7 separate regions of the Homo sapiens genome follow, and all the other regions are linked to region 6. Evidence: promoter capture Hi-C in 16 types of primary human blood cells and fetal thymus (Javierre and others, 2016). All regions are on one chromosome and are shown on one strand. The core of a region is centred on a gene start or on the middle of the fragment in contact, and the rest is flanking DNA. Distances in the headings are between cores, read along the strand shown. Region 1 overlaps TXNRD1 (thioredoxin reductase 1). Region 2 overlaps TXNRD1 (thioredoxin reductase 1). Region 3 has its middle 3.0 kb from the start of LINC02385. Region 4 holds the start of TXNRD1-AS1 (TXNRD1 antisense RNA 1). Region 5 overlaps LOC105369947 (a long non-coding RNA gene). Region 6 holds the start of ALDH1L2 (aldehyde dehydrogenase 1 family member L2). Region 7 overlaps TXNRD1 (thioredoxin reductase 1).

Evidence for each region. Contacts are between HindIII fragments. The CHiCAGO score rates a contact against its expected background, and 5 or more counts as called.
Region 1: a fragment that was not itself captured here is called in contact with the fragment with the promoter of ALDH1L2 in region 6 in 5 of 17 cell types (total B cells, naive B cells, neutrophils and 2 more); the score reaches 7.9 in total B cells.
Region 2: a contact is called between a fragment that was not itself captured here and the fragment with the promoter of ALDH1L2 in region 6, in 1 of 17 cell types (activated CD4 T cells). The highest score is 5.0, in activated CD4 T cells.
Region 3: a contact is called between a fragment that was not itself captured here and the fragment with the promoter of ALDH1L2 in region 6, in 15 of 17 cell types (naive B cells, total CD8 T cells, total B cells and 12 more). The highest score is 11.5, in naive B cells.
Region 4: a contact is called between the fragment with the promoter of TXNRD1-AS1 here and the fragment with the promoter of ALDH1L2 in region 6, in 5 of 17 cell types (neutrophils, M1 macrophages, M0 macrophages and 2 more). The highest score is 6.2, in neutrophils.
Region 5: a fragment that was not itself captured here is called in contact with the fragment with the promoter of ALDH1L2 in region 6 in 5 of 17 cell types (naive CD8 T cells, monocytes, non-activated CD4 T cells and 2 more); the score reaches 7.9 in naive CD8 T cells.
Region 7: a fragment that was not itself captured here is called in contact with the fragment with the promoter of ALDH1L2 in region 6 in 1 of 17 cell types (total B cells); the score reaches 5.1 in total B cells.

What each region holds. Positions count from the first base shown.
Region 1 is chr12:104,333,273-104,335,972 of GRCh38, reverse strand. TXNRD1 (thioredoxin reductase 1) reads right to left here. Exons shown (of 17, transcript NM_001093771.3): 15 at 1,641-1,736. Among named protein-coding and RNA genes, the nearest start is that of EID3, 31 kb to the right of the region's middle. The HindIII fragment of the contact is 3,413 bases long and covers 1-2,700 here.
Region 2 is chr12:104,238,470-104,241,169 of GRCh38, reverse strand. The region is part of intron 1 of TXNRD1 (thioredoxin reductase 1); the gene reads right to left. Among named protein-coding and RNA genes, the nearest start is that of TXNRD1, 24 kb to the right of the region's middle. The HindIII fragment of the contact is 7,102 bases long and covers 1-2,700 here.
Region 3 is chr12:104,165,611-104,168,310 of GRCh38, reverse strand. No RefSeq gene overlaps it. Among named protein-coding and RNA genes, the nearest start is that of LINC02385, 3.0 kb to the left of the region's middle. The HindIII fragment of the contact is 2,041 bases long and covers 378-2,418 here.
Region 4 is chr12:104,279,420-104,282,119 of GRCh38, reverse strand. It overlaps TXNRD1-AS1 (TXNRD1 antisense RNA 1), which reads left to right and starts at 1,277. Exons shown (of 2, transcript XR_007063431.1): 1 at 1,277-1,836. The region is part of intron 3 of TXNRD1 (thioredoxin reductase 1); the gene reads right to left. RefSeq lists a silencer at 1-49. The HindIII fragment of the contact is 3,745 bases long and covers 1-2,700 here.
Region 5 is chr12:104,142,319-104,145,018 of GRCh38, reverse strand. The region is part of intron 1 of LOC105369947 (a long non-coding RNA gene); the gene reads right to left. Among named protein-coding and RNA genes, the nearest start is that of NFYB, 5.5 kb to the right of the region's middle. The HindIII fragment of the contact is 3,300 bases long and covers 1-2,700 here.
Region 6 is chr12:105,083,121-105,085,820 of GRCh38, reverse strand. ALDH1L2 (aldehyde dehydrogenase 1 family member L2) reads left to right here and starts at 1,363. Exons shown (of 23, transcript NM_001034173.4): 1 at 1,363-1,432. The coding sequence starts at 1,385. RefSeq lists a silencer at 1,056-1,485 and enhancers at 1,986-2,225, 1,720-2,520. The HindIII fragment of the contact is 2,214 bases long and covers 174-2,387 here.
Region 7 is chr12:104,298,396-104,301,095 of GRCh38, reverse strand. All of the region lies in intron 4 of TXNRD1 (thioredoxin reductase 1), which reads right to left. Among named protein-coding and RNA genes, the nearest start is that of EID3, 4.0 kb to the left of the region's middle. RefSeq lists an enhancer at 1-98. The HindIII fragment of the contact is 1,384 bases long and covers 594-1,977 here.

The DNA.
Region 1 (2,700 bases), core at 7-2,506, 750 kb after region 6:
CTGTGTAGCTCATTATGGGTTATCCTAGTATATTCATTTGAATCTTTTTTGCAGAGGATTCAAGAAAATGTTTTCTAAAACCCTTGGTTTTACCAAAAAACCAACCTGTAACTGTCCTACTGCCTAAAGCAGTAGTTTCCAAATAGGATACATGGCTTAATTATATTCAAATTTCAAGATTAAAACATTATCAGTTTACTAGGCTTTTAACATACAGATTCTTTAACATCATTTATATTTTTACTGAGGTCGTTTCTTTAAAAAGTGTTAGCTAAGTTAAAAAGATCAGTTTTCTTAAGAGTCAATATTAAAGAGAGTGTGTGTATATGAATATACCAGTGTCCCACAGTCAAAAAACTTTAAAAAATATGAATTATCCAATCCCTCATTTCATATATATGGAAAAAAACCCTGTGAGGTATAGAGTTTGCTCACAGGCTTTCACAGGTTTCTGCTAAAAAAGTACTGTAATAGGCCGGGCGCGGTGGCTCACACCTGTAATCCCAGCACTTTGGGAGACCAAGGCAGACGGATCACCTGAGGTCAGGAGTTCGAGACCAGCCTGGCCAACATGGTGAAACCCCGTCTCTACTAAAAATACAGAATAGCTGGGCATGGTGGTGGGTGCCTGTAATCCCAGCTACTTGGGAGGCTGAGGCAGGAAAATCACTTGAACCTGGGAGGCGAAGGTTGCAGTGAACCAAGATCACGCCACTGCACTCCAGCCTGGGCAACAGAGCAAGACTCCGTCTCAAAAAAAAAAAAAAAAAAAGGACTGTAATATATTGCATATTGTACTCTTATTCACCTGGACAGTTGGGGGTTTATGGTATGAATAAAGTATATCTGTGGGAGGACTACTAAAAAGCACTTAAAATACATTAGATTTACACGTAATAACACCAGACTAGCATTACATGTAGCATCAGGCAATGAAATCTTAGAACTCAATTAAGAGCTCTTTCTTAGTAGTGCCAGCTGCTGAGGATCAAACGTGCATTGCTCCTGTTCTTTTTTGTTATTCATTATATTTAGATAGTCGATGACTTTATTGTTCCTCTTCTATAAACACAAACATAGACAGTTCTCAAGTTGTGCCTTTGGTTCCTTCACTCAGTAAGTTTTGGCTGCCTGTTGACTAAGTGTAGGGCCCTGTGCCAGTGAAGATGAGGGGGCAGCAGGCAGTGCAGCCAAGGTCCTTGCCAGCTGCTGATATCTATCAGCTGAGACAACTGGCACGCGAAATACTGAAGGAATGCCATCTGCACCATGTGACCAACTAAGCTATATATTAAAAACTAAAGCCGGGTATGGTGGCTCACGCCTGTACATTCCAGCACCTTGGGAGGCCGAGACAGGCAGATTACGAGGTCAGGTGTTCAAGACCAGCCTGGCCAACATGGTGAAACCCCCGTCTACAAAAATTAGCCAGTGTGGTGGCGCAAGTCTGTAATCCCAGTTAGTTGGGAGGCTGAGGCAGGAGAATCACTTGAACCCGGGAGGCGGAGGTTGCAGTGAGCAGAGATAGCGCCACTGCACTCCAGCCTGGGCAACAGAGCAAGACTCCATCTAAAAAAAAAACAACAACAAAAAACAACAACTAAATAAAATTACTGGAAAGGATTGAGAATTAAACTTACATTGTCTTTAGTATTACAGATTATTTTTGCATAACATTTGTTGTTATCTCTTGACGGAATCGTCCATTCCAATGGCCAAAAGTAACTATGGTAAACCTAAGAAGATACAAAAGCAAAATTTAGACCCATTATTTTAAACATTAAGTCTGTCAAACATATATGGTGAAAGACAGTAGAGACTCTTTAATAAGTAGACTTTCATTAAATAATAAAATTCATGGAATAAATAGGAATCTGGTCAAAAGGTAAATGACTTTCAACTCCTTGCTGTCAGGCACTTTTGCTATAAGCTCATCCCTTAATTATGTATATCTCTACCTCAAAATAGTACACCCTAACTAATAACAAAAAAGAGCAAGGGAATGACAGAAATAAGCCATTTAATTACCTGCTGTCATACATTGAAAACACACACACACCCAAACTCAATACTATCTTGTTATCCACTGTGAATGACAACTTGGGCAAGAAACAAATAAGGTGCCAGGATCAATTAAGGTAATTATCTAGTTCTCTTGCTAAATGCTTCCAAAAGACATTTCCTCCTTTGGCATTATTCACTAAAAGCAATGAAGGAAGGAGATAGGGAAGGAAAGAAGGAAGGAGATAGGGAAGGAAAGGAGGAAGGAAGGGTGGAACGACAGCATCCTTACTAATTTAATTGCTGGTTGACTAAATGGATTTTTTTTTTCCTCCAGCTGCTAGCCTCAGTTCAAAACATGATTCGCTACCTTTTACGAGCAAACTGATTATGAAGACATAACAAGTGTTCTTCGATGTTGTGATAAATAATATAATTTTAAAAATAAACATGGGTTACAAAATTTAATGTACAGTATCATAGTATCACAATTATATAGGAAAAAAATTAAAGGAATCACCCCAAATTGCTAACAATTGCTGTTACAGCTCTAACTCCATAAGTAATTGTTTCCTCTTTCCCTTACATTTTTCAAAGTTTCTTCAACTCAAACACGTTATACTTCTATAATAACAAAGCAAATTTTAAAAAACTTAAATATTGTCTATCAAGAAATATGAAATATATATTAAAAATTTC
Region 2 (2,700 bases), core at 58-2,557, 840 kb after region 6:
TACTTGGGAGGCTGAGGCAGGAGAATCACTTGAACCTGTGAGGCAGAGGTTGCAGTGAGCCGAGACCATGCCACTGCACTCCAGCCTGGGCGACAGAGTGAGACTCTGTCTCAAAAAAAGAAAAAAAAAAACTGGGCGCAGTGACTCATGCCTGTAATCCCAACACTTTGAGAGGCCGAGGCGGGCGGATCACGAAGTCAGGAGATCGAGACCATCCTGGCTAACACGGTGAAACCCCATCTCTACTAAAAATGCAAAAATTAGCCAGGCATGGTGGCGGGCGCCTGTAGTCCCAGCTACTCAGGAGGCTGAGGCAAGAGAATCGCTTGAACCCAGGAGGCAGAAGTTGCAGTGAGTCGAGATAGTGCCATTGCACTCCAGCCTGGGTGACAGAGCAACACTCCAAAAAAAAAAAAAAATTCCACAAAGATACCTTTTCTGGACAAAAAACATATACACAGAAGACAATGTAGGTGCTTTTTCTGATTGTAAAACCTGAATTACAGTCATTAAAATATAAAAGGAATCTGTGGACAATTACTAAACTGATCCTTCATATAAACACATACTATATACCAGTTGAGAACTCAATTAAGCTAAAAAGTTCTCTTGCCTATACTAGACCAATAACTCTCACAATTTCACTAAATATGCTTTATACATATATACAGAAAATATGTTCTTTTTTCATATTGTTACCTTAGTATTAAGAATATCCAGTAAGTGGAGTAATCCTAGTTCACTAAAATGTTCAGTCAATGTGACCAACAACAGGGCTTAAAAGAAACTACCTCAATCTTCCCAGTTGAGATCTCTCACAAAAAGCTGAGAAATAAGACATGTGGTTACACTGTATTTCAACAGATTTCTTTTAACCCCAAGGTTTAAGAGAAAACTGCAGAAAACAATGGTACTTAGACTCTCTCTGATTCAGTAACATTTTCTGTTTCTCACACACACCTACAAACAGGATATCTGGAGGAAAATAAAACTTAATAAAAGATACCCTACCAATCTATACAATCTTGTCCAGAAAATACAAGGGGAGGGGCCATTTTCAAACTTATTTTATGAGGTCAGTAGCATCCTGATACTCAAACTAGACAGAGACAGTACAAGAAAAGGAAACTGTAAATCAATATCCCTCATAAACAAAGATGCAAAATTCTTCAACAAAATAATGGCAAATTGAATCCAGCAATATATAAAAGGAATAATAATATTCCACGAGCTAGTGGGGTTTGTCCTGGGAATGCAAGGCTGGTTTAGACTGCTCATATTAACAGTATAAAAAATTCAATTATATGCCAACGAATTAGATAATCTACATGAAATGAACAAATTCCTAGAAAGACATGATTACCCAAACTGAGTCAAGAAGAAATGAGGCTGGGTGTGGTGGCTCATGCCTGTAATCCTAGCACTTTGGGAGGCCAAGGTGGGTGGATCACCTGAGGCTAGGAGTTGGAGACCAGCATGGCCAACAAGGTGAAACCCCTGACTCTACTAAAAATACAAAATTTAGCCAGGCATGGTGGCACATACCTGTAATCCCAGTTACTTGGGAGGCTGAGGCATGAGAATCACTTGAGTCTAGGGAAAAAAAAGGAATGAGAAGCTAAATAGACTTATAATCTTGAATAGACAAGAGATTGAATTAGCAATAAAAACTCTTGGCCAGGTGCAGTGGCTCACACGTGTAATCCCAGTACTTCGTGAGGCCGAGGCAGGAGGATCATCTGAGGTCAGGAGTTTGAGACCAGCCTGACCAATATGGTGAAACCCTGTCTCTACTAAAAAGACAAAAAATTAGCCGGTTGTAGTGGCACACGCCTGTAATCCCAGCTACCCAGGAGGCTGAGACAGAAGAATCGCTTGAACCCAGGAGGCAGAGGTTGCAGTGAGCCGAGATCGCGCCATTGTACTCCAGCCTGTGGAGCAAGAGCGAAACTCCGTCTCAAAAAAAAAAAAAAAATTCCCACAAAGAAAAGCCCAGGCTCAGATGATTGTTGCTGATAAATTCTCCCAAACGTCTAACACAGAATTATCAGCAATTTTTCACACTCTTTCCAAAAACAGAAGAGGAGGGGATACTTTCCAATTCATTCTATGAGATTGGTATTACCCTGATTCCAAAACCAGACAAGGGCATCACATGAAAAGGGTGTGGTGGCGGGCATCTGTAATCCCAGCTACTTGGGAGGCTGAGACAGGAGAATCACTTGAACCCGGGAGGCAAAGGTTGCAGTGAGCTGAGATCACACCATTGCACTCTAGCCTGGGCAACAGTGCAAGACTCTGTCGCAAAAAAAAAGAAAAGAAAACCACAGACCAATGCCCTTTGTAAATATAGACAAAAAAAATTATCCACAAAACATTAACAAACCAAATCCAGCAATATATAAAAATTTTATACACCACAACTGAGTGAAATTTATCCCAGGATAAACCTTGCACAGGTTGATTAAACATATGAGAATCAATCAATGCAATACATCATATTAATAGAATAAAGAATGAAAACCACACAGTTATTTCAACAGATACAAACATTTGACAGAGTCTAACACCCTTTCATGATAAAAAACACTCAACAAACTAGGAATAAAAGGAAACTTTTCTACCTGATAAAGGTCATCTATGAAAAACCCACAACATCTTTTTTTTTAAGGCTGTAAATAGTTCAAAATAAGTTTCCTT
Region 3 (2,700 bases), core at 149-2,648, 920 kb after region 6:
CCTATGAGAATCTAATGCCACTGCTGATCCGACAGGAGGCAGAGCTCAGGTGGTAATGTGTGCATTAGGGAGCAGTTGTAAATACAGGTGAGCTTTGCTCACTTGCCTGCTGTACACCTCCTGCTGTGCTGCTCGGCTCCTGCTGTGCTTCTCGGTTCCTAACAGGCTGTGAACCAGTACTGGTCCATGGCCCAGTGGTTGGGGTCCCCTGCCCTAAGCTGTATTGGACTGAACAGACTCTTGAATTCCAGAGACCTCCAAGAACTCAGAGGCACTCCAGGAACCAATAGAGGCAATTCAACAAGTGGTACTTTATTCACTAAGGAAGGATGGAACCCATGCCAGCAGACCTAAGCCTTCAGAGTTGGTGATAAGCTTACATATGAGATCACAAAATCAAAATCCTTCAGGCTTGTTACCAGTAAAGATTTTTAAACATATGTTTTGGAGGAAAAACTGATTTGGAAGTTGACAGTTCATCTGCCCTTTTGATCTTTGTGTCAGTCTATGCTTATCTTTTTATTTCTTGGTACATTACAGAGTTCTCATTAAGTCACGCTTGGAATGCATGCTTACCCTGTGCTCACAGTTATCTTTAGGGAGGGTTTGTGGCTAGTAGTCCTCCCCAGCAGGTGAGGGCCCAGGGCAAAATACATTCTGTCCCTTCCTTCCAACTCTAAATGTTTAAGGCAAGATAAGTCATATTAAAATTACCACAAAGAACAGCCTCAAGTGGAAAATAAGACACACAATAAGATGACTTAGGAACATAAGGGAACCCAGTATCCTATAACCTGTCTGCCTCTGGTGTTGCAGGAATTTGTGGGCTGACTGTGTGTGAGTCTTTCCATTATTTTCTATTGCTCACTAACTGAGCTATTGTCACACCCAGTTGGTCACCACACAGAAGCTGGATCCAGAAATACCACTGGAGGCCGGGCATGGTGGCTCACGCCTGTAATCCCAGCACTTTGGGAGGCTGAGGCAGGTGGATCACCTGAGGTCAGGAGCTCGAGACCAGCCTGGCCAACATGGTGAAACCCCATCTCTACTAAAAATACAAAAATTAGCTGGGCGTGGTGACAGGTGCCTGTAATCACAGCTACTCGGGTGGGTGAGGCAGGAGAATTGCTTGAACCGGGAGGCAGAGGTTGCAGTGAGCCAAGATTGTGCCACTGCACTCACTCCAGCCTGGGTGACAAGAGTGAAACTCCATCTCAAAAAAAAAAAAAAAAAAAAGTCTCACTTTTGCTGTTCTTCGTGCCTGTAAGTCCATTCTTTGGGACTGGATGGGTGAGTGTCTTTCTCACAGGCAGAAACACAACTTGATATCACGGAGAAAGGAAACAAGAAGAAAATGAAGCCATGCTGTATTTTAGCTTGTGGATATTAATGTTGCTATTTGCATCATTTCCCACAGTTGTTTTGACATGAATAGTCCAGGAGCGTGCTAGGCAAGGGTTTTCTGAGCATGGTGGTGGTCGTACGGGGTGGTGGTGGGGATAAAGTGGAGAGAGAGAATATGACAGGTGTATAAACTGGCCTGAGCCACCATGTTGCACAGCTGCAGGGGGTGCTATTCACTATAGTCTAAGTGAATGGTGCTCCCTGGAGTCATGCACGGCATCATCTGAGCCTTGGAGGTTTAAGAGAATAAAGTAATCATCTCACTAGTCCAGCTGAGAAATGTCCTGGCCGACAGACAAGCAGTCCTCTCCCAGCAGCCTAAACCACTTTGTCTACTCAGTGGTTTTTCTCTCTACTCACACCACTTAATACTTCACTTCTGACACCAGATGTGTGTGGGTTTTTCTCCATACACCAAGGAATTCTCGTCAGGCACCAGCTTTGCATCCTATAATTCCATTCGATTCTGACACTATCTAGAGATAGCATCAGATCCCATGGGTTGAGGACCCAGTCCCATAAGACTGCTTTAGATGCCAGTTGCAAGCCCAAGGTTGTGATTAGTGCTTCCAGCCAATCAGCTATTGAGAAGGAACAGAGGTCCCTGCTAGGCACCCTCAAGCATGGAAATAAAGGCAAATCTTGAGTTCATTTAAGGGAAATCCTGGGAACCTAGCTAGCCCTGAGAAGTAAATGAGCAACTTAATAAGCAAAAAGGTAATAGTAGCTTAAAACAATAGCCAAGGAAGTTAGAGTCATGAGATGTTTGGTTCTCTATAGAAACTAAAGATAACATGTTAACAAATAGCCCTGAGTTGTTCTTTAGAAATCCAGACCCCTGCCAAATGGATCCACTGGCACACGGACCTCAGATAAGGGGAGAACACTGAGGACTGAACTCTGGCTGCCATTCTTTGTTCTAAATTTCTTCCTCAGGGGCCAGGAGGAAGTCACGCCCATGGGCCAGACCTAACATTGTTTTCTGATGACCCCAAGTCTTTAGATGAAGCTTTCCTTCCCTAACCAATTGCAAATCAGAAAATCTTTTAATTGACCCATGACCTGTAAGCCCTTGGTTGAGGATATCCTGCCTTTTTAGGCCAAACTGATGTTTAACCTCCAAGTATTGGTTTACAATTTTGCCTGTAACTTCTGCTTTCCTGAAATTTACCTGTACCTTTAAAAACCCTTGGCTTGCAGAGGTCAGATCTTGAGCATGAACTGCCAGATTCTCCTTGCATGGCACACTGCAAATAAATGCCCTCCTTTCTCTCACTGCAAAATCTCAGCATG
Region 4 (2,700 bases), core at 28-2,527, 800 kb after region 6:
TTGTTCTTCAGACATACTGAAGACCACCCTGTCTGCATATATGCCCCAAATTGCTATTCTTTCTTTCCAAATAAAAAATTTTAATTTAGAGACTTGTCTCACATTTTTATTCTGGCTTCAACATACTAAAGCCCTAAGCTAGGAGTCTGCTTGACTTATCCAAGAATCCACAAAGTAACCAGTATGTCTAAAGCCTAATGAGTGAGAAAAAAAGTGGTAGGAAGTGAGGTCAGAGGAATAGCCAGGGGTCACATCCATCATCAGGCCATAGTCAGGATTTTGGATTTCATTTTAAATGTGGTAAGATGCCAGAGTGTGAAGAGAAGAGAAGGAAATGATTGTTGTATGATAAAATAATTGCTCAGTTGTGTGGAAAATAGGCTAAGGAGGGCAGGGACTTAAAAGTGGAGATATGGCCGGGCTCGGTGGCTCATGTCTGTAATCCCAGCACTTCAGGAGGCTGAGGCGGGCGGATCACGAGGTCAGGAGATTGAGATGAGCCTGGCTAACACAGTGAAACCCCATCTCTACTAAAAATACAAAAAATTAACCGGGCGTGGTAGCAGGCGCCTGTAGTCCCAGCTACTGGGGAGGCTGAGGCAGGAGAATGGCGTGAACCCGGGAGGCGGAGTTTGCAGTGAGCCGAGATCCCACCACTGCACTCCAGCCCGGGCGACACAGTGAGACTCCATCTCAAAAAGAAAAAAAAAAAAAAAAAAAGTGGAGATATGGAGATATACAGACCTGCTAGGAAGTTACTGTCCTGGTCCAAGCTAGAGATGATAAAGGCTGATTAGTGAGGTTAAAAAATACATTTGAAGGTAAAGCTAATTGCACAGATATATGTTGTACAGTTGTACAGATGGATGGAATAAGAGATGTAAGAGAAAGAGAATCAATGATAACGCTAGATTTCTGGCTTTAGCAATGGGGTAAATAATAGCACTCTTCAATGAAAAGCAGGAACACCCAGAGAGGAGGAAGAAAGATGGGAGGTGGGGGAAAACAATAGTTTGGGACAAATCCATAGTATGGGTTAACAGATCTATTATTATCCAAATGGAGAGGTTGACTAAGCAGTTGGATATGTAAGTATGGAGTTCAAGGGAGAAGTCAAGGCTAGAAATAAACATTTGGTGTCAAACATAAAAGATATTTAATACCATGTGTATTAGTCACAGCTCTTCAGAGAAACAGAACCAATAGGATACATGTATATATAGAGAGATTTTTTTCTTTTCTTTTTTTTAAAGAATTGACTCACACAGTTGTGAGGGCTGATAAGTCTGAAAACTCCAAGGCTGGCTGATAGGCTGGAAATTCAAGCAGGCATTGATGTGGCAATCTTGAGACTAACGGTGGTCTGGGTGCAGAATTGCTTCCTCTTTGGGAAACCTCCATCTTTTCTCTAAGGTCTTCAACTAATTGGATGAAGCCCATCCACATTATGGAGGGTCACTAGCTTTACTCAAAGCCTACTGATTTCATTGTAAGTCACATCTAAAAAATACCTTCACAGCAACATCTATGCTTTTATCTGCCAAACAACTGGGCACCGTATGCTAGCCAAGTTGACACATAAAATTAACTGTCACTCCATGGGACTAGATGAAATTACCCAGGAGTTAATGTATTTAGAGAAATAAAGATGGCCCAGGACAGAGCCCTGGCACGCTCAAACTGCAAAAGGGGAAAAGAACCCAGCAATGGAGCCTAAGAAGGAGCTGGCAGGAGGTAGGAGGAAAACCAAGACTGTGTGGTGTCTCAGAAGCCAATGAAGAAGTGCTCCAAAAAGGAAGATCAACTATTTCAAGCACTGCCAAGAAATCCTATAAGGTAAGGGCTGAGTCATGGAGGTCACTTATGAAAATGGTGGTAGGTAAGAAATCCTAATTAGAAGAAGTTCAGCAAGAAACAGAAAATAAGGAAATGGAGGGAGTAAGTATAGGCAACTCTTAAAGGGGTTTTGCTATAAAAACAAAACAAAACAAAACAACAATAGGAAAGGAGCTAAAGAGGGATGTAGGATAGAGGAATTTTTTTTTTTTTTTTTTTTTGAGACAGAGTCTCACTCTGTCACCCAGGCTGGAGTGCAGAGGCACGATCTCAGCTCATTGCAACCTCTGCCTCCTGGGTTCAAGCAATTCTCCTGCCTCAGCCTCTCGAGTAGCTGGGACTACAGGTGCATGCCACCACACCCAGCTAATTTTTGTATTTTCAGTAGAGAGAGGGTTTCACCATGTTGGCCAGGCTGGTCTTCAACTCCTGACTTCGTGATCCACCCTCCTCGGCCTCCCAAAGTGCTGGGATTACAGGGGTGAGCCACCGTGCCTGGCCAGACTTTTTGGTTTTTTTGGTTTGTCTAAGAAGGAAATTATTACAGCATGTTTTTATGCTAAAGGAATAATCCAGTAGAGGGAACTTTGGCAATTTCCAAAGAAGGAGCAAAAAGAGATAATTGCAGAACCAAAGTCTGTTGAATATACCCTTATTATGCAGTGTAGACTTTGAAGTCAAATCCAGGTTCTATTACTAACTGCAAAGCCAAGTTACTAAGCCTCTCTGCTTCTTCATCTTCTTTCTACAAGGCCCTTTGTGGTCCTTCCACCCCTTCATCTCACCCAAACTTCTCCTCAATCCCCATGATTCAGTCATTAGCTTGCTTTCAGTCCCTGTAATTACTGTCCTCCCTCCCACCAC
Region 5 (2,700 bases), core at 193-2,692, 940 kb after region 6:
CAAGCAATTCTCCTGACTTAGCCTCCTAAGTAGCTGGGATTACAGGCACCTGCTGCCATACCCGTCTAATCTGTGTATTTTTAGTAGAGATCAGATTTCACCATGTTGGCCAGGCTGGTCTCGAACTCCTGACCTCAAGTGATCTGCCTGCCTCAGCCTCCCAAAATGTTGGCATTACAGGTGTGAGCCATTGTGCCCGGCCCTCACAATTTTAGAACATTTTCATCACCTCACAGAGAAACTCTATACCTTTTAGCTATCACACCTCGGGCTCTCCCATCTCCTCCCTTAGCCCCCCACCAAAGAATAATCTGCCTTCTCTCTCTATGGATTTGACTATTCTAGATATTTAATATAAATGAAATCATATAATCTGTGGTCCTTTGTGTCTGACTCCTTTTACTTAGATAATGATTTCAAGGTTAATCCATGTTGTAGCATATATTAGAGCTTCATTTGTTTTTATGGCCAAATGATATTCCATTGCATTGATATATCATATTTGCCCAGCTACTTGGGAGGCTGAGGCAGGTGAATCACTTGAAGCTGTGAGGTGGAGGTTGCAGTGAGCTGAGACCGTGCCATTGCACTTCAGCCTAGGCAACAAGAGCGAAACTCTGTCTCGAAATAAATAAATAAATAAAAATAAAAGAAGAAAGCTGCCATAAATGTATATGTTTTTGTATGGATATATATTTTCATTTATCTTGGGCATACACCAGGAGTGGAATTGCTGGGTCAAATGGTAACTTTTATGTTTAGCTATTTGAGGAACAACCAGACTGTTTTCCACAGTGGCTGTACCACTTTACATTCCCACCAGCAGTGTGTGAAGGTTCCAGTTTCACCATATCCTTGACAACACTTGTTACTATCGATCTTTCTGATTCTGGCCATCTAGGTGGGTGTGCAGTGATATCTCACTGTGGTTTGATTTGAATTTCCCTTATGACTAATGATGTTGAACATCTTGGCATATGCTTGTTGGCCATCTGTGTATCTTCTTTAGAGAAAAGTCTATGGGGACCCTTTGAATAAATAGTTTTTTTTTTTTTTTATAAGAGGGACTGGGGCCAGGTTTGAGGCTTGGTTTCCAGCTGTGTGACTTCTTGGTTTCTTAAACTATGAGCTTGTTTTCATGTCTTTTGAGTTGGGCAAATAACACCTATTTCATAAGGTCATTGTGTGGCTGAAATGAGAAAACATGCAGGTAGCATTTAGCAGAGTTCCTGATATGTAGTAACTATATAATAGATGAGAGCTGTTTTCATGATTTTTTTAAAAGGTAACAACACAATAAGAACTATGTTTTCTATGACCTGGCATTCATATGTAGGATTAAGAAAACAAGTTTTCAGGAAGATTAATATGGCCATGTTATATTAAATGGACAGGGACACCAGTTTGGAAATGACCCAAGAGTTTAAGCAAAAAAATAAAGGAAATGAGAAAAGAATGTTCTCTGCCCTTCTTTCCTATCAGAGACAAGGATTTCCTCCTGTCCTCAGCCTCAGCAGCCCTAGAAACGAGAGTGATCTTGCTGCTTTTTCAAGCTGATCAAGGATTTTTTAGTCATCTTTGTATATTAACTTACCCAATACCTGGGGAAATAGTGATGAATATGTTTTGGATTTTTTGATTAACACATCATAATAATGTGAGGAATTTTAAATGTGTTCATTAACTGTGTTTCTGTGGAGGAAGATGGCACATAAGGCTTTGGTAATCTCAGGGTCATTTATATTATCAATTAAAACAATTTTATACCATACCTGTGCATGCATTCATTTAGTACATACTTATGAAGCCCCTACTATGTGCCAGGCACTGTTTTAGGCTCTGAGAATACAATGGTGAACACAAGGTCTTTGCACTAAAGGAGTTTATATTCTAAAAAGGTGAAACATTCAAAGTCCATTCATTCAACAAATATTGAGTACCAACTGAATGCTGGACACTATTTTAGATGTGTGGGATGCATTGGTAAACAAAACAAGCCAAATTCCTTGTCCTCATAGGGCTTACATTTTAGTGGGAAGAGACAGACAATAAATCATAAACATAACAAATAAGGAAACTATATAATATGTTAGAGGGTTATAGCTGAGTGGGGGTAGGGAGTTGGAATTGCAATTTTTAGATAAGTGATCAGGGCTGGCCCCATTAAGACATGGAAGGAGGTGAGGGAGTGAGCTATGTGGCTATCTGAGGGAGAATGTACTAGGCAGATGGAACAGCCAGTGCAGAGCCCCTGAGGCAGGAGCATTCCTGGCAGAAATAAGGACTGCAAGGAGTGCAATTAGCAAAGGAAAAGGTAGGAGGAGATGAGGGTAGAGGGGGAGCGGAAAGGGAATAGATCAAAGATCCCATAGGTTGTTGCCCAGTGAAGAGGCCACCATTCACGTCTGCAACAATTAAGTGCTGAACATATTTCTTGCTAACCAGAGGACAGCAGTACTTGTAAGACAGTGTCTCTGAACAAAGGAATCTGTGAATCTTATACAGTGTTTTGGGAAGCATGGGGTTCGGAGGTTGGGGAACTCTTAGAAGCTGGACTGTTTAGAGATGAGTTGAACTTTAGATGTGGAAGAAGGATTACTAGAGTGTGGCTGTTGCTGATTGGCTAATTTTCAGAAGCAAGTCACTGATCAGGAGATTGTTATTGATTGATTAAAACAGATTCTGGTTGTTTCTTGTCAC
Region 6 (2,700 bases), core at 114-2,613:
CATAGACAAAGATTATTTCCTGTTAAGAGGAGTGAACAATTATTTATGGGGAATAAGGAGACTAAGAGAGAAAAGAATCAGAAAAAAGCGCCTCCAGGAGGCAGCATGTAAGCGGTACCTTTCAGAAAAGAAACGGTCGTGCCAAGATAATTACAAGTGACAGATGACAAGCTTTTCTGGGAAACATTGTCCAAGAAGGAATAGGCAAGAACTGCAGTCAAGCAGAATTACATATGCAAAAGAGCAGTGAGAAATAAGAGAAAATGGCAAATTGCAGACGGCCCTGAATGCTGGGCTAAGAAGTCTGGCTTGAGATAAACGTCCAGCTAAAGCAGGTCTGAGCGTTTTTTCCAGAGAGGTGAGGGAGAAGGGCACGTATCTATTAGGTTGATGCAAAAGTAATTGCGGGTTTGCCATTATTTTCAGTGGCAAAAACCACAATTACTTTTGCACCAATTTATTTATTTATTTTTAAGACAGAGTCTCGCTCTGTTGTCCAGGCTGAAGTGCAGTGGCATGATCTCAGCTCCACTGCAACCTCCGCCTCCCCGGCTCAAGTGATCCTCGTGCTTCAGCCTCCCGAGTAGCTGGGACTGCAGGCATGCGACATCACGCCCGGCTAATTATTTTATTATTTTATTATTTTTTATTTTTAGTAGAGACGGGGTTTCACCATGGTGGCCAGGCTGGTCTCGAACTCCTGAGCTCAGGCCATCTTCCCTCCTCGGCCTCCCAAAGTGCTGGGATTACAGGCGGGAGCCACCGCGCCCGGCCTACCGTCCTACGAGGTAGGCATCAGGATCCCTCCACAGCGAAGGCGCCCCCACTACCTATCTGTCTACAGGCGTGCCTTTTACGGGCTGTGCTATGGACAGCACTTGGGATGTCAGATTGACCACTAATAAGGTAGATCCGTATACACTGCTGCGGGGCTGAGTAACTGGTAGAGGGTCCCACAGTTAGAAAGCACCTGGACCTTGGCTGGAATTGGCGGAAAGTCCAGGCAGCGGAGAGGCGCGGTCCCTGGGACTGGGTGCGCTCTTGGCACCAGGGTCAGGGCCCACAGGCTCCAGGAAGCCCACGCGCTCCGCCGGGTCGCACCAGGTTGGCTGTCCGAACGCAGCCAGCTGGCGGGGCGGGGCCTTCCAGCTGGGGGCGGGGTCTTGACAGCTAGGGGGCGGGGCCTTGCAGCTGGTAGGGTGGGGCGGGCCGCGGGCTGTGGGCTTTGGGAGGGGTGCGGACTAGCAGAGGCCGAGAGCGGCGAGCCGCGAGCCAGGCAGTCCGGGGCATCCAGACTGCAGGCCGCGCCCAGGCCGCGCCCAGGCTGCGCCGCCCGCCTGCCTCCCGCGCTGCCGCGTCGCCAGTGCTAGCGCTCCTCTCCAGCATGCTGCGGCGGGGCAGCCAGGCGCTCCGGCGCTTCTCCACTGGCCGGGTGAGTCCGGCCCGGGCGAGCGTCCCGGCTGTCACCCTGTCCTGGTTTCCAGACTCCGGGGCGGGAGGGCCGGGGCGGTGGGGCTGGGGATGAGCAGCGATGCTTAGACTTTGCTAAACACCAAGACAGCGTTTAAAACAAACAAACAAACAAACAAAAACAGAGAGACCTCAGAGGAGGGCTTGGGGAGGGTCCCGGATGGGAACTGGCACGCAGGCCATTGTCTTCTGCCGGGAGGGGGCTGAGGATGCAGTTTTTGGACGTGTCAAGTCTGGCTGGGATGGCAAGGTGGGAACAGTCACTTGGTAAGGAGGACAGAGTCTGCTTCCTTTCCTTTTTCACTTCAATCATGAGATCCCTGGTCAAGAGCTGGAGCCATATGGAACCGAGACTGTCTCCTGGAGGAGGGGAGTATCAAGTCAATAGGGTCCTCGTTGGCGGCCTGGGAGGTGTAAGCGCTCGAGACTGGCACGCAGGGCCGGTTCAGATAATGGCACTCAAAGCTGATGGCTGCAAGCTCAGTATTCCTGAGCTGAGCTGCAGATGGCAAAATTTCTAGAATTGCCAGGCGCTGCAGAGGCAGCCACGCTGGAACACTATTCTACTGTAGCACAAGAACCGAGCTCTGGCCCAGCCCCGCGCCTTGGAATTGCATCAGCTCCTCCAGAAATGGAACCGAGAGAGGACACGTTGCACTGCGGTGCTGCCTTCAGCACCCAGGGGGCCTCGGGACTGTTTAGGGAAGAGAGAGAGAGAAAAAAAAAAAATAAAAACTGTCTTATGTATCGTATCTTTTATAGGAAGTACATAAAAGAATTTGCTTATCGATTCTTTTTCTCGGCCATGCCAAAGCCATATGTACATATGTATATATTCAGATGTAAAAAACTTGGAGGCAGAGAGAAGTCTTGAGTAGCACCAAAAACTGGCCCAAACTTGCATCAAAGGAAAAGCTTTCTGTATCCCAGACAACCCCAAATAATAAGAATTCGTTTTACTCTTTGCAACCAGTTCTAGTTACTTTGAGGTATAGTCACCTTTTATAAAACGAGGGGTGGGGGTGGGGAAGACCTGCTCTGCTAGGACTTTGGCCTGCTCTCCTGGACCCCTCATTAGCTTCCCCCACCACGTGGCACATGGGATCCCAGATGGATAGCACAGAAAGCAACGGGCTGTGCCCAATGCCTGAGCCTGTTTTGTTGGCCTCCTCTGTCAACACCTTTCACTGACTTGTCTTTTTTGGTGACCAGAAGGAAGTCTTGCAGAAT
Region 7 (2,700 bases), core at 36-2,535, 780 kb after region 6:
ACAGAGCATATCGAGGCAAACATTAAGTTGTGATTTACAGTGCTGAATGCATTCTATGCTAGATCTCCAAGAACTTTATTAACATGTAACTTAGATCATCCTAAGAAAGGCAGACTTGCATTATGTTCCACCTTTAAAAATCTGCCTTTAGGCCAGGTGCGGTGGCTGACACCTGTAATCCCAGCACTTTGGGAGGCCGAGGTGGGTGGCTCACCTGAGGTCAGGAGTTTGAGACCAGCCTGATCAATATGGAGAAACCACGTCTCTACTAAAAATAGAAAATTAGCTGGGCGTGGTGGCACATGCCTGTAATCCCTGCTACTTCAACCTGGGAGGCAGAGGTTGCGGGTGAGACAAGATTGCACCATTGCACTCCAGCCTGGGCAACAAGAGCGAAACCCCGCCTCAAAAACAAAACAAAACAAAACAAATCTGCCTTTAGACATTGCTACAAAGTAAAACAATCTCAAGTTCAATAACTCTCCCCAATCATATAAAGAATGGGATTTCCATGCCGGTTAATCTTTAAGTCATTAAACAGTGATTTCCTAACCTAAGGTCCAAGTGCTACTAATAATTATTTAAATGAAGCTTAAAAAGAAGAAACTGCACTACTGATAAATTTGTCTGTGACCAGGAATAGAAAGCAAGAAGCGCACTGGTACTTCAAAGAAACCAGTGGCGTCTACCTTATTCCCGCAGTATAGACTAGTTCAGGCAACCATGAGACTGAGTTGCCTCAGAGATAATTTAGCTCCCCTCTTTCCCCTTTTTCCTCTTTCTTCGCTCAAGAGTTGCTACCCAGGGTTCAATACAGACCTCCATTTCCTTTCCTCTTTTCTTCACCCTTTTCTCCTATATTTTCAGTTCCTTTTCTAGGAGTTTAGGTTAATTCCAAGCATTCTTGAGCTCTTTCCCACAACCCATACTGCTCAACACAAACGTGATAGGGTGGATGACAAAGGTCACATGTCTCCCTGTAACCAAATAAAGGAAGAAGTCACGAGTCCACTATTTTTCTCCAGTGAGGTTTTGCTGTTAACACTTACCTATAACAAATGGATTTTTAAGAGACTTTTTGGAGCCAAAGCCAGGAATCAGTCAGGTTTGAGTCCCACACTCTAACATATACACTTATCCTAATAGCTACCTCCCTAAACTTTTCTGTTCCTTCTTTCATAGCAGCTTTTCTCCCTTCATACCACCATGGCTTCTGTTTAATATTGAGTTGTGAAGAAATGTGGTAAAATTCCTAGTTTGATTTGCCAGAATTAGCAGGACATTAGGTATAGTTTCTCTTTCATCTTAACTTTTTTTTTTTTTTTTTTGAGACGGAGTCTTGTTCTTGTCACCCAGGCTGGAGTGCAATGGCACGATCTCGGCTCACTGCAACCTACACCCCCCGGACTCAAGTGATTCTCCTGCCTCAGCCTCCCGAGTAGCTGGGATTACAGGCACGAGTCACCACGCCTGGCTAATTTTTGTATTCTTAGTAGAGACAGGGTTTCAGCATGTTGACCAGGCTGGTCTCGAACTCCTGACCTCGTGATCCGCCCGCCTCAGCCTCCCAAAATGCTGGGATTACATGCGTGAGCCACTGTGCCTGGCAGTTTCTCTTTCATCGTAATTTTCTTTAAAGTTATGTTTGTGTGTATATATTTTGTGTTTTGTTATTATTAAAGGTGAACTTTGCTATGATAAGACAGATATCTGTATTTTTTTTTTTAATGAAAATTAGTTTCTGAAAAGACCACAGACTGTGGGAGGGGACGATCTGGGTTCCAATCTTGACCTATTACCTATTAGTATTATCTTAGCCAGCTTGCTTAACCTCTCAGCCTCCAGTGTCTTTATTTATAAGACGGGAATACTACTGCAGTTGACCCTTGAAGGAAACAGCTTTGAATTGCACAGATCCACTTATACCAAAAGCAATAAAAAATACAGGTCTGCCTGCTCCTTAAAGAGGAAAAAGCTTGTGAGAAATAAAGAAATAAATACTGTATTTGTGAGATGTGATGTTTCACATCCGGTGAATACAGAGAGCTGACTTTCCATATATGCTGGTTCCACAGGGTGGACTTTGGGACTTGAGTATGTATGAATTTGGGTATACACAAGGGTCCTGGAACCAATCCCCTGAAGATACCGAGGGACAACTGTATTTATACCATATAATTACTACAGTGAATGAAAATTATGTAATATATCTGACAGTGTTTTCAACTACTGAGTAGGTACTTAATAAATCAAACAATCCCAAAGATAGCAAATGTAAAAAAAAAAACTGTATACAAACCAGTAGTTTCACTTCTGAATGTTGCTTTAGGAACAGAAAAAAATTTAATTTTTTTTATTTTTTATTTTTATTTTAGATAGAGTCTCGCTTGGTTGCCCAAGCTAGAGTGCAATGGTGTGATCTCAGCTCACTACAACCTCCGCCTCCCGGGTTCAAGTGATTCTCCTGACTCAGCCTCCCGAGTAGCTGGGATTACACGTGTGTGCCACCGCGCCCAGCTAAGTTTTGTATTTTTAGTAGAGATGGGGTTTCTCCATGTTGGCCAGGCTAGTCTCAAACTCCTCATCTCGTGATCCACCTGCCTCAGCCTCCCAAAGTGCTGGGATTACAGGTGTGAGCCACTGCGCCCGGCCCCAGAAAAATATTTTTAAAGGTTAAATCAGTAAGGAGGAACACAGGAA